2 separate regions of the Homo sapiens genome follow, and region 1 is linked to region 2. The links are contacts of gene promoters, found by promoter capture Hi-C in blood cells and fetal thymus (Javierre and others, 2016). All regions are on one chromosome and are shown on one strand. Each heading gives the region's core, a stretch centred on a gene start or on the middle of the fragment in contact. The rest is flanking DNA. Distances are from core to core; before and after follow the strand shown. Region 1 overlaps TMEM196 (transmembrane protein 196). Region 2 holds the start of ITGB8 (integrin subunit beta 8).

Region 1 (6,269 bases), core at 638-3,137, 600 kb before region 2:
GCCTGAAAAAATACATTTTTTTCTAAAGGTTTCATTTTTCCCTTTATGTAATTTTTAAAAATTACATCTAAAATTGCTGTCTAAAGCAGTGAGGGCTTTAGCCTTTTTGCCATAATAGATGTTCTCACGAAGAAAGATGTGATTAGAAAAAGGGGTCAAATAAAAATAACTGCAATGCTTCCCATTCCCTGATCTGCTCAGATAACTGGCCTCACCTTGGAAAACTCTCTTTAGGCTCAAAGGGTACTTCCTAGGGTCCCTGTGTAGTATTAATTTTGCCAATTTGTGTCTATGTTCTTTCCCATAATACTTGGTAAAATAAACCACACTTTTTCCTTATTTCCAAACCCTTATGAAAAATCATGAAAGGCGATGGGGAATCCACACTTCAGCATGCAGTGTGGCTCATCCAGCCAATATCAGAGCTAACTGGGAGTGTGTTCCATACCCCAGAAACCCACTATAGTACCATAAAACATCTGAAAACACTTATGTGTGCATTCACAGTAATAAAAGAAAATAAAATAAATCTCTGAGAATTAAACTGTAACCATAGCAACACAGCTGTCTTGCTGCTTCGCAAAACTTGCTTCACAGTCAAAGAAAGCCAATAATCCTTAGGCCCAGTTCCATATTTAAATGGTTACATTTCTCATGGGCTGAAGCTTTATCTACTTGAGCTTACTGAAGGATTCAGGCGATTGTCTGGCAGTCTCCAGATTGGAAAACTAGAGACTGTCATCCGTAGCAGTCATTAAAGGTTGCATATTCAGATATTTAAAGAGTTTATTAAAGTTTTTTTACATCGGTGGGCTTTTGTCATAGTTTCTAATAATTTTGATGGTTTTCTTTGAAAACAGAAAAGGCAGGATTTATTTGTCAGTTTTTTTTTTTTTTGCCTCAAACTAGCAATATTCAGTATATGAAAGCTGGCTAGCCATCATTTCTATTTTAGAATTTTACGTTTCATACACCTCAATGCACAATACAAACAAATCAAACACTTACGACAAGTCCTGATTTTTTTTTGGCACACAATATTCCACAAATGCCACAAAGAAGAAACTGAAAAGGAAAAGAAGAACAATTACTCCTTATCCAAAGACACGAGGACCCCTAGATTTTAGCTTGTAGTTCACTCATGACACTTTCTCCAGGGAAGATAGAACATTTTAAATTTCCTTCAAAACCTGGAGAGGATAAGATCTCATTCTAGAATAGTAAAGGATAAAAGTATAAACCCTAATAAAAATTTATTTTTTGCTAGATTGTTAGAGGTAATTGAATCAGTTTTAGCATCAGGTAAAATTATTAAGTAAATGAATTTAGAGCTTTGTTTCTCCCATTTCTTTTCACCGTCTGATTCCTTTCTACTTTCTCAGGGAGAAAAGTGGTGTGATACATTCATTCACACTTAACAACTAGAAATCAGTAAGTTATACTACAGGAAAGAATCTGCACAAATCAAAAGATAATGCATCAGACAAGGAGATGATTCTCTATAGAGATACTCTTTGTACCACTCCAATTGGTACAATGACAACCTCCTTATTCTACAAGAAACTGGCCTTATGGATATGTCAGAAGAACACAAAGAGATAGGCTGGGCGCGGTGGCTCACACCTGTAATCCCAGTACTTTGGGAGGTCATGGTGGACGGATCACAAGGTCAGGAGATCGAGACCATCCTGGCTAACACGGTGAAACCCCGTCTCTACTAAAAATACAAAAAATTAGCCGGGCGTGGTGGCAGGCGCCTATGATCCCAGCTATTCCGGAGGCTGAGGCAGGAGAATGGCGTGAACCTGGGAGGCGAGGCTTGCAGTGAGCCAAGATCGCGCCACTGCATTCCAGCCTGGGTGACGGAGCAAGACTCCGTCTCAAAAAAGAAAAAAAAAAAAAAGAACACAAAGGGATAAAGCAATTGATAGCATATTATTTCTTGTAAATAAAACATTGTTGACATAATTGCTTTGCAAAGGCAGTCACATCAGATTATCTACCAAGGAGAGACTATTAGATATTTTAGTAATCATAAAATGATAAATAGTTTAATTTGAATAGAAACAGTTCCATTTGAATGCAAGTTTTCACATACTTCTAACTTGAAATAGCTATATAAAATATTCATTAAGAAGTAAGAAGTCCACTAAAGGACTTCAGATTTGTAAAGAAAATTTTTATTCGCAAAGAGAACTAGTTTTCACTGTTGTCGTTGTTGTTTAATTATCTGAAGTCAGAACTAACAATATAGCTTGTTTCACTAAATATTTGACACCTGGATAGATTTATTTCCAAATACATATCAAAATATACTAAGGATTATCTGAGATAATATGCATGTGAGAAGTACCAAGAAAATCTGTTAAAAAGCAATAAGTAAGGGAAGTTGTTGCAAAGAAACTTTTCCTATAAGGGAGCAGAATGATTATTATGCAGGCAGTGGGGCAGCAAGAAGAAATAGGGAACACAGAATATATAAGAATTTGGTATATAATTTAGATGACCTTTCATATTAATGGAAAGGAAAGGATTATTTGCCCAATAAATAGAGCTAGAATAATGTGTTAACGTTCCCTAACATACACCAAAATTAATGTAAAATTGAGTATTTATACAAAAATGCTTAAATGCATTGGGAGACAACAAAGTTAAATATTTATATAATTTTAGAGGACTGGAAAGGATTTTCTAAATGTAGCACCAAAGTAATAAACCAAAGTAGAAAGTATTTATTAATAGAAAAAATTTAATTTTGACGGTCAAAAACATAACACTCAAAGGCAAAAAATGTTGGGATTATATTCGGAAAGTATATGATAGCCAAATAGTTAACATACTTTAGAAATAGATCTAATAAAATATTTTTAGTATTATAAAACCATGAGAAGATAGAAACTCAGAACTTTATAAAACCTGAATACTTGCATAATTTTCAGTAGCCTTAAAAAGCTATTTCAGAGTGACCGTTTCTCACCACCCACTGTGTCCTAAGTGTAGATGATCATGTCCTCTTATGGACTCTTTCTGTTACTAATTTCATCTCACATTTTTGAAGGCAGTGCTCAAGAAATTCCAGTTTGGACCAATTCTGTACCTTTCAGTGCTTCAAGCTTCAGATCAAAGCTCAAGCATACTCTTCTCCTTAAGTTTCCCTGACTACCCCATTTTCATCCTGAAAGTCCCATTTATCCAGAACTCATTCGAAAAGAATTTGAAAGCAGTGTAGTTTTGTGTTCCTTGCATCTGTTTTGAAATCTGTAAACACTGCCATTATTCATTTACAGTAAAGCCCAAGAGGTGGTCAGGAGCATAAGCAGAGTTCTCCATCCAACCATTTGGTTAGAACATCTAGGTGGCAATAAATTTGCTATTTTGTATTATCTCACTTCAATTGGATGGAGCTAAGAAATGTGAATTCAAGGATTGGGAGAGGGAAGGGAGAGTAGGGGAGGAATCAATCAATATTTTTTCTACTTTCAGCAGATGAATGTAAATACTCTCCAACTGTTACTTCTGTTAGAGTATCCAAAATCACATGTCCTAGAGAAAAGCTGTAACCTGAGAAAAAGTGGACACATGTAACAGGAAGTATATGAAATCATGGGATTTATGAGGAGGATCTAAAAGATCTTGGTTGAAATTTAGCCACCACAGTTTATAGAAAAGAGAAAAAGAGGCCCCCAAAGTAGTAAATTGATATTTTATTTCATTGGCTATCTTTATTTACCACAAGTCATAATACTGGAAGAGATCTTAAAAGATGATTTAATTAATCCCTCGAAGTTTACACGTGGGGACATGGTCCAGAGAGGTCCAGAGAGTTAGTGACTTGCTCAAGGTAACACATCAAGGTCAGAAATCACACATCTAATTTAAGACTTTATTAAGTGTCTAAATTAATTTGTTTTTAATAATGGGCTGGGCATGGTGGCTCACACCTGTAACCCCAGCATGTTGGGAGGCTGAGGTGGGCGGATCACAAGGTCAGGAGTTTGAGACCAGCCTGGCCAATATGGTGAAACTCCGTCTCTACTAAAAATACAAAAATTAGCCGGGCGTGGTTGCAGTCACCTGTAGTCGCAGCTACTCTGGAGGGGGAGGCAGCAGAATCACTTGAACCCAGGAGGCGGAGCTTGCAGTGAGCCGAGATCGCATCACTGCACTCCAGCCTGGGTGACAGATCAAGACTCCATCTCAAAAAAAAAAAACAAAAAAAAAAAAAACGGAATGGAAGTGATTTTTAGAGTTTTTTTTTTTTGTGTGTGTTAGTTCAGTGTAGGTTATACTAGCAAATCCAACTAGAAGTGTTCAATGAATACCTACTCACCTACAACTGCAAGACCATTGTTAATTTATGATATAACTTCTGATGTAATCAAAATAATAAGAACATCAGTCAATTGTGTTACATTCTAAAATTAAATGCATCTTATTTTATAAAGGAATTTGTTATAATATTTCAAAATACACTTTCTTTTGTTCAACATAACTTTATCCAGGATGCAAAGCACTTACCCACATCATGGCAATTATTAAGCAAGTAAAAAACAAATTAGCTAAAAAAGTAAAGCTGATAGCTGTATGTATGTGCATATGTGTAAAGCCTGAACCATGAGAAAATATGATTTTATTTGTGAGAAGATGGGATGTTTAAATCCAGGGAGGATTATTTGCGTTGATCTTACTGTGAAATGATATAAATGTAGCAATCTAATGATAAGGCATCTAGTGCTACACAATAAAATAAAATTAGTTCATCCTCCAAGCGAACTTCATTTGATTCCAATTTAGATTATATTCAATAGAAAACTAAGATTGTGACGTGTTGGACGAAATGACATGATTATGAAGACAGTATTTTACACTTTGAGTGGATTTTCTTTATGTAAAGTCCTTGGAGGTTTCTGCTTTTGCTTAGGACACAGAAAGATGCAAAGATGTCATTTCCACTCTTACAGTAAGGAAATGATATTTTAGAGCCCATCAGAGAGCTGGTTGAGATTCCAAGACAATGAGATAACTTCAATTCAAAGAGGGAAATCTTCTCCAAGAAAGGTCTGACACTATGTCACCTGTTGCAGAGTAAGGGAGGAAGAGACACTGGTCATCACACATTTGTTTGTGTTGAGGGAGGTGTAAAGCCCTGCTCCTTCCCTAGACCTTCTTTTTTATGAAGCAAAAGGCTTAGGCTTCTGGCAGAAGGGTAGCAAAGCTTCTCATTTCCAGGGCCTATTCAAATATAGATTGCCACTCTAACTGGAGGAAAAGTAGAAGATCCTTTTTTAAAAAAAAAAAAAAATACAGAGGGAGAGGCAGGAATTCATCTTGGGCCTGGCATCCTATGCCTATACGAAGTAGAGGACATTGACCATTGGAGAAGAGGCAGGAGCCTCTCGCCCAAGATCAACCCCAGATATAAGGCTAAGTTTAATTGTCTCAGGAAGGAAGGTACAGAATACTGAGAAAGCCCCACACCTGAGATCAGGCGCACAAGGACTTCCTAAACTGAAACTGGTTGACAACAACAAAACACTTTCTCCTTCAGCCCCACCTTCACTCACCATGAGTTAGCAGTTGGGAGTAACAACTGACAGCAGTCTACCAATGAGGGGGAGACAACAGCATGGGAGGATACCCTCCACCCCAACCCTGTGATGAAGATGAACAGGGGCTCAAGCTGAAGGTGGGGCACTCACATCAAAAAAAATTTCCAGCACATAAGCACAAGGCAACTACAGCCCACCACTAGAGGAATGTGAAGACTATTTTGCACCACAGATAATCACAGCCAAACAACATTTAGTTCCTGACACCAGACTGACTCCACTTCTCACACTAACAGCCTAAAAGTAGATATTAAGATAAAATACAAAATACTGAAAAAAAATGACTTTCAAACTTTTCAATGTATATCCAGCCAAACTCTTACTTAAGCAAGAGATTATAAGAACGACATGTTCACTTGGCCAAGGGCATGGTGGTAGACTGAATTATGGCCCTCCAAATATGTCCATCTTCTAACCCCCATAACCCATGAATATTATAGGGTAAAAAAGGCTTTGCCAATGTGATTGAATTAAGTTTCTTGAGATGGGGAGATTATTGCAGATTATCCAGGGATGCCTTAAATGTAATCACAAGGGTCATTTAAGAGGTAGGCAAGGTCAAAAGAAGCAGAAGCCTATGTGTTGACAGAAACAAAGAGACAGGGAGAAGAAATTTGAAGATGCTACGCTGTTTGCTTTGAAGAGAGGCAAAGGGGCTAT
Region 2 (5,903 bases), core at 3,404-5,903:
ATTTTCTACCAAGAAAGCTGAAGATGAGAGCCCCTTCTCTCCTTTTCCCACACCCAGAAAGCCAGTGTACTAACATATGATGAAAATTCTGAAAACTAGATATTCCCAACAAGGATTTTGAATCTTGAGCAAGTGATCCAAAGCAAAGGGAGGATTCAAAGTTGTTCTTAAGAGTTAGACACTTCCTGCTACTGCTTATGCCTCCGTGTTTTCTGGCCTTGGTTAGTCGTAGTCTCCCAGCTTCCTGCTGATTCTGTGATTCTGTGGGCTCCCAATTTTCTTTCAAGAATTTCCTTTTTTTTTTTTTTTTTGAGACTGTGTGTCATTCTGTTACCCAGGCTGGAGTACAGTGATGTAATTTCAGCTCATCGCAACCTCCACCTCCAGGGTTTAAGCAATTCTCATGCCTCAGCCTCTCACATAGCTGGGGCTACATGTGTGTGCCACCATGCCAGGCTAATTTTACATTTTTAGTAGAGACGGGTTTTGCCATGTTGGCCAGGCTGGTCTCGAACTCCTGACCTCAGGTGATTCTCCTGCCTTGGCCTCCCAAAGTGCTGGGATTACAGGTGTGAGCCACCACACCCAGCCAATAGTTTCCTTTTTTACTTAGAACAGCCATAATCTGACTCTTTACTTGAAACTAGAAGTCATCACAATATGAGATAATTGAGGAGAATCAGAGCTCTGATTTCTGCCTGCTCATGAATTCCCTTGAAAAAGTGAGGTTGGTTTCTTTGCCAGTCTTTGTCTCAGTTTCCACATTTGTAAAATGGGGCTAGCTCTGTAGCATGCTTCGAGGAAAATTAATCTGTGAGATGTTCTCTCATACAGGTTTCTTCCTTTGGAGAATCTAATGGCATGCTGCTCTATTGAGTTTCCGGAAATTCCTCTAGTAAGGGATTTAATTTGACTTTAATTCAGCATTTCCCAAGCTTAATCATGGAAGTCTTGTTTCAGAAAACATTAATATCTCACAGATTGAGTCATCCATAAACTATCTTGGCAAGAGACACTGGCTCCAGCAGTTCATTTTTCTTTGAATTTGCACCTGACACTGATCTCTGTTATTAAACACTCATGAGGCCTTTAAGGAGTCTCTGTATTAACCCATTAAAGTAGGAAGTTCTTAAACTTCAGAGCATATAAAAACCATTTGAGGACCTTGGTATAATGCAGATTGCTGAGCACCATACAAGATCTACTAATTCAGAATCTCCTGGAATAGAGACAAGGAATTAGAACTCAGAATTACTCTATGGGGGATTGTGTTGTATGCAGTCTTCAGTCTACAGTATGAGAAACACTGTCTTATGTAACAATTCAGTGAAAAATACCTTCAAGCAATTTATGTACTTTATCATTAGAAGAAGCTAGAGGTCATAGTCACAATAATATATCTCACTGGTCTGACCATTAATCATCTTCTGAGATGTCTCAGGCAAGCTTATAGATAACTTGTGAATACCCACCCAAAACGTACTGAATGGCTCTGATCCCAACTTCAAAAAGATGTAACATTAAAATTCAAATGTGTCTGTAGGTGCCACTATGAGATCAATAATTTGGGCACATCTAGTTAAAGTGTGAATAGCCACAGCTGTATGTGGTGTCTTACACCTATAATCCCAGCTACACAGAAGGCTGAGGTGGGAGGATAGCTTGAGTTCAAACTTGAACCAGGAGTTCAAGGCCAGTTTGGGCAACATAGTGAGATAGCAAGATTCCATTTCTTAAAAAACAGTCTGAGTGTCTCCCTCACTCCTGCTACCTATCTATAGCTTATTCATTCTCACCATAAACTCACTTAGTGAGAAATCAAGGTTAAAGGAGTAGGGAAGAAATTTAAGTAATTTAATTTTATGACTTTTTAGTAACTCAGCTCAAAGACTCTAATGATAGGAAGCCTGGAATGAATAACTAAAATGTTATTTTTAGACTATCTGTGAATTTCATTTCCTCTCATTACCACAAATGATGAAAAATTAGCTGTCAGAAATTTCAAAGCAATATAGCAGAACATGATGGAAAAACAAATTAATCAAGTCACCATCTTCCGAAACATTTTTCCTTTATTAGAATTCTTCAGGTAATATGACGAAGATAACAATACTGCATTTCTTTAAAATATGCTGTACATTTCCTCATAGGAAAAAGGGTGAGTTATGGTGACCAGTGACATTAACTGGAAACAAGCAAACTTTTGGTTCCTGGGCCACTAGTTGTATTTACTTTAAGAAAACCCTAAAGATGATTTGCAGTCTTTCAGAGAGTTTACTTTTATGTTTACAGCCCAAAATGTGCAGATAACTTGTTTGTAAATAACTGGCAGGGGTCACAGTGTCACATCTAGGAGATTTCATTTTATTTTATTTCGACAACCAGAGTTACAGCCTCTTTACAACTGAGAAGTGGTAATAAATGGTATTGTGCTTATTCTTCAACAACTCCATAGCACTGGCACCTGACATATATTTGCATGAATTTCATGTAACAAAATGTAGAAATCTTTCTTTCTAAAGGGCTTCAAAATTTCCCGAAACAGACTTCTGAACTTCATTTTATTCCTCTTGCTACATGGTTGTTCTGGATTAGTATATATATCAACACCTAAAAACAGAGTTACAAAAATTAGTGCATACCTCATCAATTTCATAAAGTTACATCCTTTCTTGTTTGCATACATTTATATTTTATTTATTACTGTAACTGCCACTTACAACCCAGCAACAAAGAGTTGTATTTTAGAATATTATGGAATGGTGATATGATAGACACTTTAAAGTGTATTGACATGTCCTTATGGGAATTAGGGATTTAATTTTTTTTTTTTTTGATTGAAGCACTGCATGTCTCAAGGGTGGCTGCATTCAGTAGGTCTGTGACATAACCCCTGGAAAATACCCAGGCTGCCCAATGGAAGAGTCACTAATCAGATATTGAATATGATATTTTTGTGTTCAAATTTTCAAGTCCTCACACCCATCCTAACTAATTTTTAGGCCTTTCCTTTAAGACAACCAAAAAACAAAACTATAACTGTTCAAACTTGGAACTAAGGAAAGGAAATAAATATTAAAGCGGAGCTGGATTTATTTCTATTTATTTAGAGTACATCACCTCCAGTAGAATTATGTTGCTAAGGTTGGGATCACGGCTTTGGTCTCGCGAAGGGACCTGCTTTGCAGATCCAGGGCTCGTTTAATTTTCCAGCTGGGTTCCTGCTTTGCTTAACTAATCCTGTGCACCCCGTTGTGCGGTCCACACCTGAAAGGGGGAGTTTCGATGTTGTGGTTTATTAACCAGGTACTTTCCATTCACTCAGTCAACAGAAAGAAAGAGAGAGACCGCGCCTCCTACTTTTTTTTTTTTTTTTTTTTTAACTACAAATAAGGAGACGGAAACTATTAAATAAGAAGGGGGGAAACTCCCGCATATTTCACCTTGACCTGGCTGGACTGGTCTGCTGCCTCTAAGAGGCGGGTGTTGTATTAAAATGAGAGGTCAAACTCCTCGAATGGGAATCGCTCCTGCCCCTAGAGGGAAAAGAGAACCATCACCGTGTTAAACTGGAAACACTGCCTTGTTTCCAATGCGGGGGACTGAGTTCCCTCCCTCGACTTAGCGTGGTAATGACAGGACCCGAGGAGGCGCGCTGCTTCCGGGCAGTTGCCCAGCATAACACCCGCACCCTACTTGCACCTAAATTTCTGAGCTGCAAGCAGGCAGAAGTGCCTTCCACTTTCTCTCCTTAGCTCCCCTCTCCCCGCTTTGCTGCTGTCTGTAACTTTTTGTTCCGTTTACTGGGAAGGTGACGCTTAAGATCAAAAGACCCACTGTAACTTGCAAAAGCCCAGAGCCACCACCAGACGCTGGGGAAAAACAGGGCTGTCCAGTCCAGGGTTAAGGTTTTGAGCAGAGAAGGAGCAGCGAGAAATCTCGGCCAGTCGCTCCGGGAACAGCCCCTGCAGACTGGTCCAACTCTCCAAAGGCTAGGGACACCGGGGCAGCCTTGTGGTGGGGTAGAGGACGAGCTCCTAACTGCAAGCAAAGTGCTGAGTAGAGGGCGTTGGGGGCAGGGGAGGTCCCTTGACTCCACTTTGTATGCAGCAGCTGCGGGGCAGTGAGTATCTCCGAACAAAGCGGCGAGCAGCGCGGGGGTGAGAGATTGGGGTTTGCTCGCAGCTGCCGCTGGCGCTGAGCGAGTCTCCCACCACCCCCGCGAGCGTTGGGGTGCAAGGATTCGGGGGAGGAGGGAGAAGGGAACGAGGCGTGCCATTCCTGTTGCGCGGCTACGCTTCAGGAGTTCTTGTGAACGATGGGAATGGCAACTATCAGAGCCAAGGGGGAAAAGAAAGAGCTGGAGTGAGCAAAACAAAGAGCGAGTGTGGGCCGCGGTGACTTCATGCCTCACCAATGTCCCGCCCACGCTGCTCCGAGCTGTTACTGCTGCTCCTGCCCGGGCTGCAGCCGCGCCTGCGGGCAGCCGAGGCGAGGCGCTCCGGTAGCGTGGGGAGGTTTCCTAGCAACTCTCTGCCCTGAGTGCACCCGGCTACCCGCAGGTCTGGAGCCCCCCGGGGGGCCAGAGCAGGACCACCCCTCTCCCGCCCATCGCCGGCCTCGCCTCTCTCGCATCCTAGCCGTGTGCACCCCAGAGCGCGCCAGCAACTCGGGCTCTGGACTGCGGGACGCCTGAGCCGCGCACTGAGGCGAAAAGGACAAGGGCACGCAGCCCCCGCCCCGCGAAGCCGGGCTCCGGCACCTCGCGGAACCTCCCCTCCTGCGCTCGCAGCCGCAGGCCCCACTCCCCGCCAGGGAGGGAGCGGCGATGCCTCGCTCTGTGCCTGCGGGTGTCGGCGGGTGCTTCTAGGGCGCTCCCAGAGCCGCCTCCCCCTGTTGCTGGCATCCCGAGCTTCCTCCCTTGCCAGCCAGGACGCTGCCGACTTGTCTTTGCCCGCTGCTCCGCAGACGGGGCTGCAAAGCTGCAACTAATGGTGTTGGCCTCCCTGCCCACCTGTGGAAGCAACTGCGCTGATTGATGCGCCACAGACTTTTTTCCCCTCGACCTCGCCGGCGTCCCCTCCCACAGATCCAGCATCACCCAGTGAATGTACATTAGGGTGGTTTCCCCCCCAGCTTCGGGCTTTGTTTGGGTTTGATTGTGTTTGGCTCTTCGCTAAGCTGATTTATGCAGCAGAAGCCCCACCGGCTGGAGAGAAACAAAAGCTCTTTTCTTTGTCCCGGAGCAGGCTGCGGAGCCCTTGCAGAGCCCTCTCTCCAGTCGCCGCCGGGGCCCTTGGCCGTCGAAGGAGGTGCTTCTCGCGGAGACCGCGGGACCCGCCGTGCCGAGCCGGGAGGGCCGCAGGGGCCCTGAGATGCCGAGCGGTGCCCGGGCCCGCTTACCTGCACCGCTTGCTCCGAGCCGCGGGGTCCGCCTGCTAGGCCTGCGGAAAACGTCCTAGCGACACTCGGCCCGCGGGCCCCGAGGTGCGCCCGGGAGGCGCGAGCCCGCGTCCGGAAGGCAGTCAGGCGGCGGGCGCGGGGCGGGCTGTTTTGCATTATGTGCGGCTCGGCCCTGGCTTTTTTTACCGCTGCATTTGTCTGCCTGCAAAACGACCGGCGAGGTCCCGCCTCGTTCCTCTGGGCAGCCTGGGTGTTTTCACTTGTTCTTGGACTGGGCCAAGGTGGTAAGTTGTTTTGTTTTGTTTTGTTTTCTTCTCTTCCCCAAAGGTCTTGGGCTGGCACGAAGAGCTGCCCGGCCAGAGCATCCCGGCCAGGTAAGTTGCGGTCATCAGAGAACTTCAAGGGGGCGGGTGCGGGGCAGCGTCCTCCAGCACAGATGGCCTAGAGGCCAGGTGTCAAGCATTTCTGCCCTGGAGCGACAGCAAGGACTAATTATCAGA

What was found. The method cuts DNA at HindIII sites, captures the fragments that hold promoters and counts their contacts. A CHiCAGO score of 5 or more calls a contact.
Region 1: a fragment that was not itself captured here is called in contact with the fragment with the promoter of ITGB8 in region 2 in 1 of 17 cell types (total B cells); the score reaches 5.6 in total B cells.

The regions. Positions count from the first base shown.
Region 1 is chr7:19,728,374-19,734,642 of GRCh38, forward strand. TMEM196 (transmembrane protein 196) reads right to left here. Exons shown (of 5, transcript NM_001363562.2): 2 at 1,009-1,065. All of the region lies in intron 1 of LOC107986774 (a long non-coding RNA gene), which reads left to right. Among named protein-coding and RNA genes, the nearest start is that of POLR1F, 22 kb to the left of the region's middle. The HindIII fragment of the contact is 2,448 bases long and covers 664-3,111 here.
Region 2 is chr7:20,326,247-20,332,149 of GRCh38, forward strand. It overlaps ITGB8 (integrin subunit beta 8), which reads left to right and starts at 4,654. Exons shown (of 14, transcript NM_002214.3): 1 at 4,654-5,687. The coding sequence starts at 5,561. It overlaps ITGB8-AS1 (ITGB8 antisense RNA 1), which reads right to left and starts at 5,516. Exons shown (of 3, transcript NR_110120.1): 1 at 5,404-5,516; 2 at 3,121-3,267; 3 at 2,055-2,610. RefSeq lists enhancers at 3,275-3,887, 3,975-4,044, 4,145-4,434 and silencers at 4,515-4,904, 5,375-5,614. The HindIII fragment of the contact is 8,395 bases long and covers 1,445-5,903 here.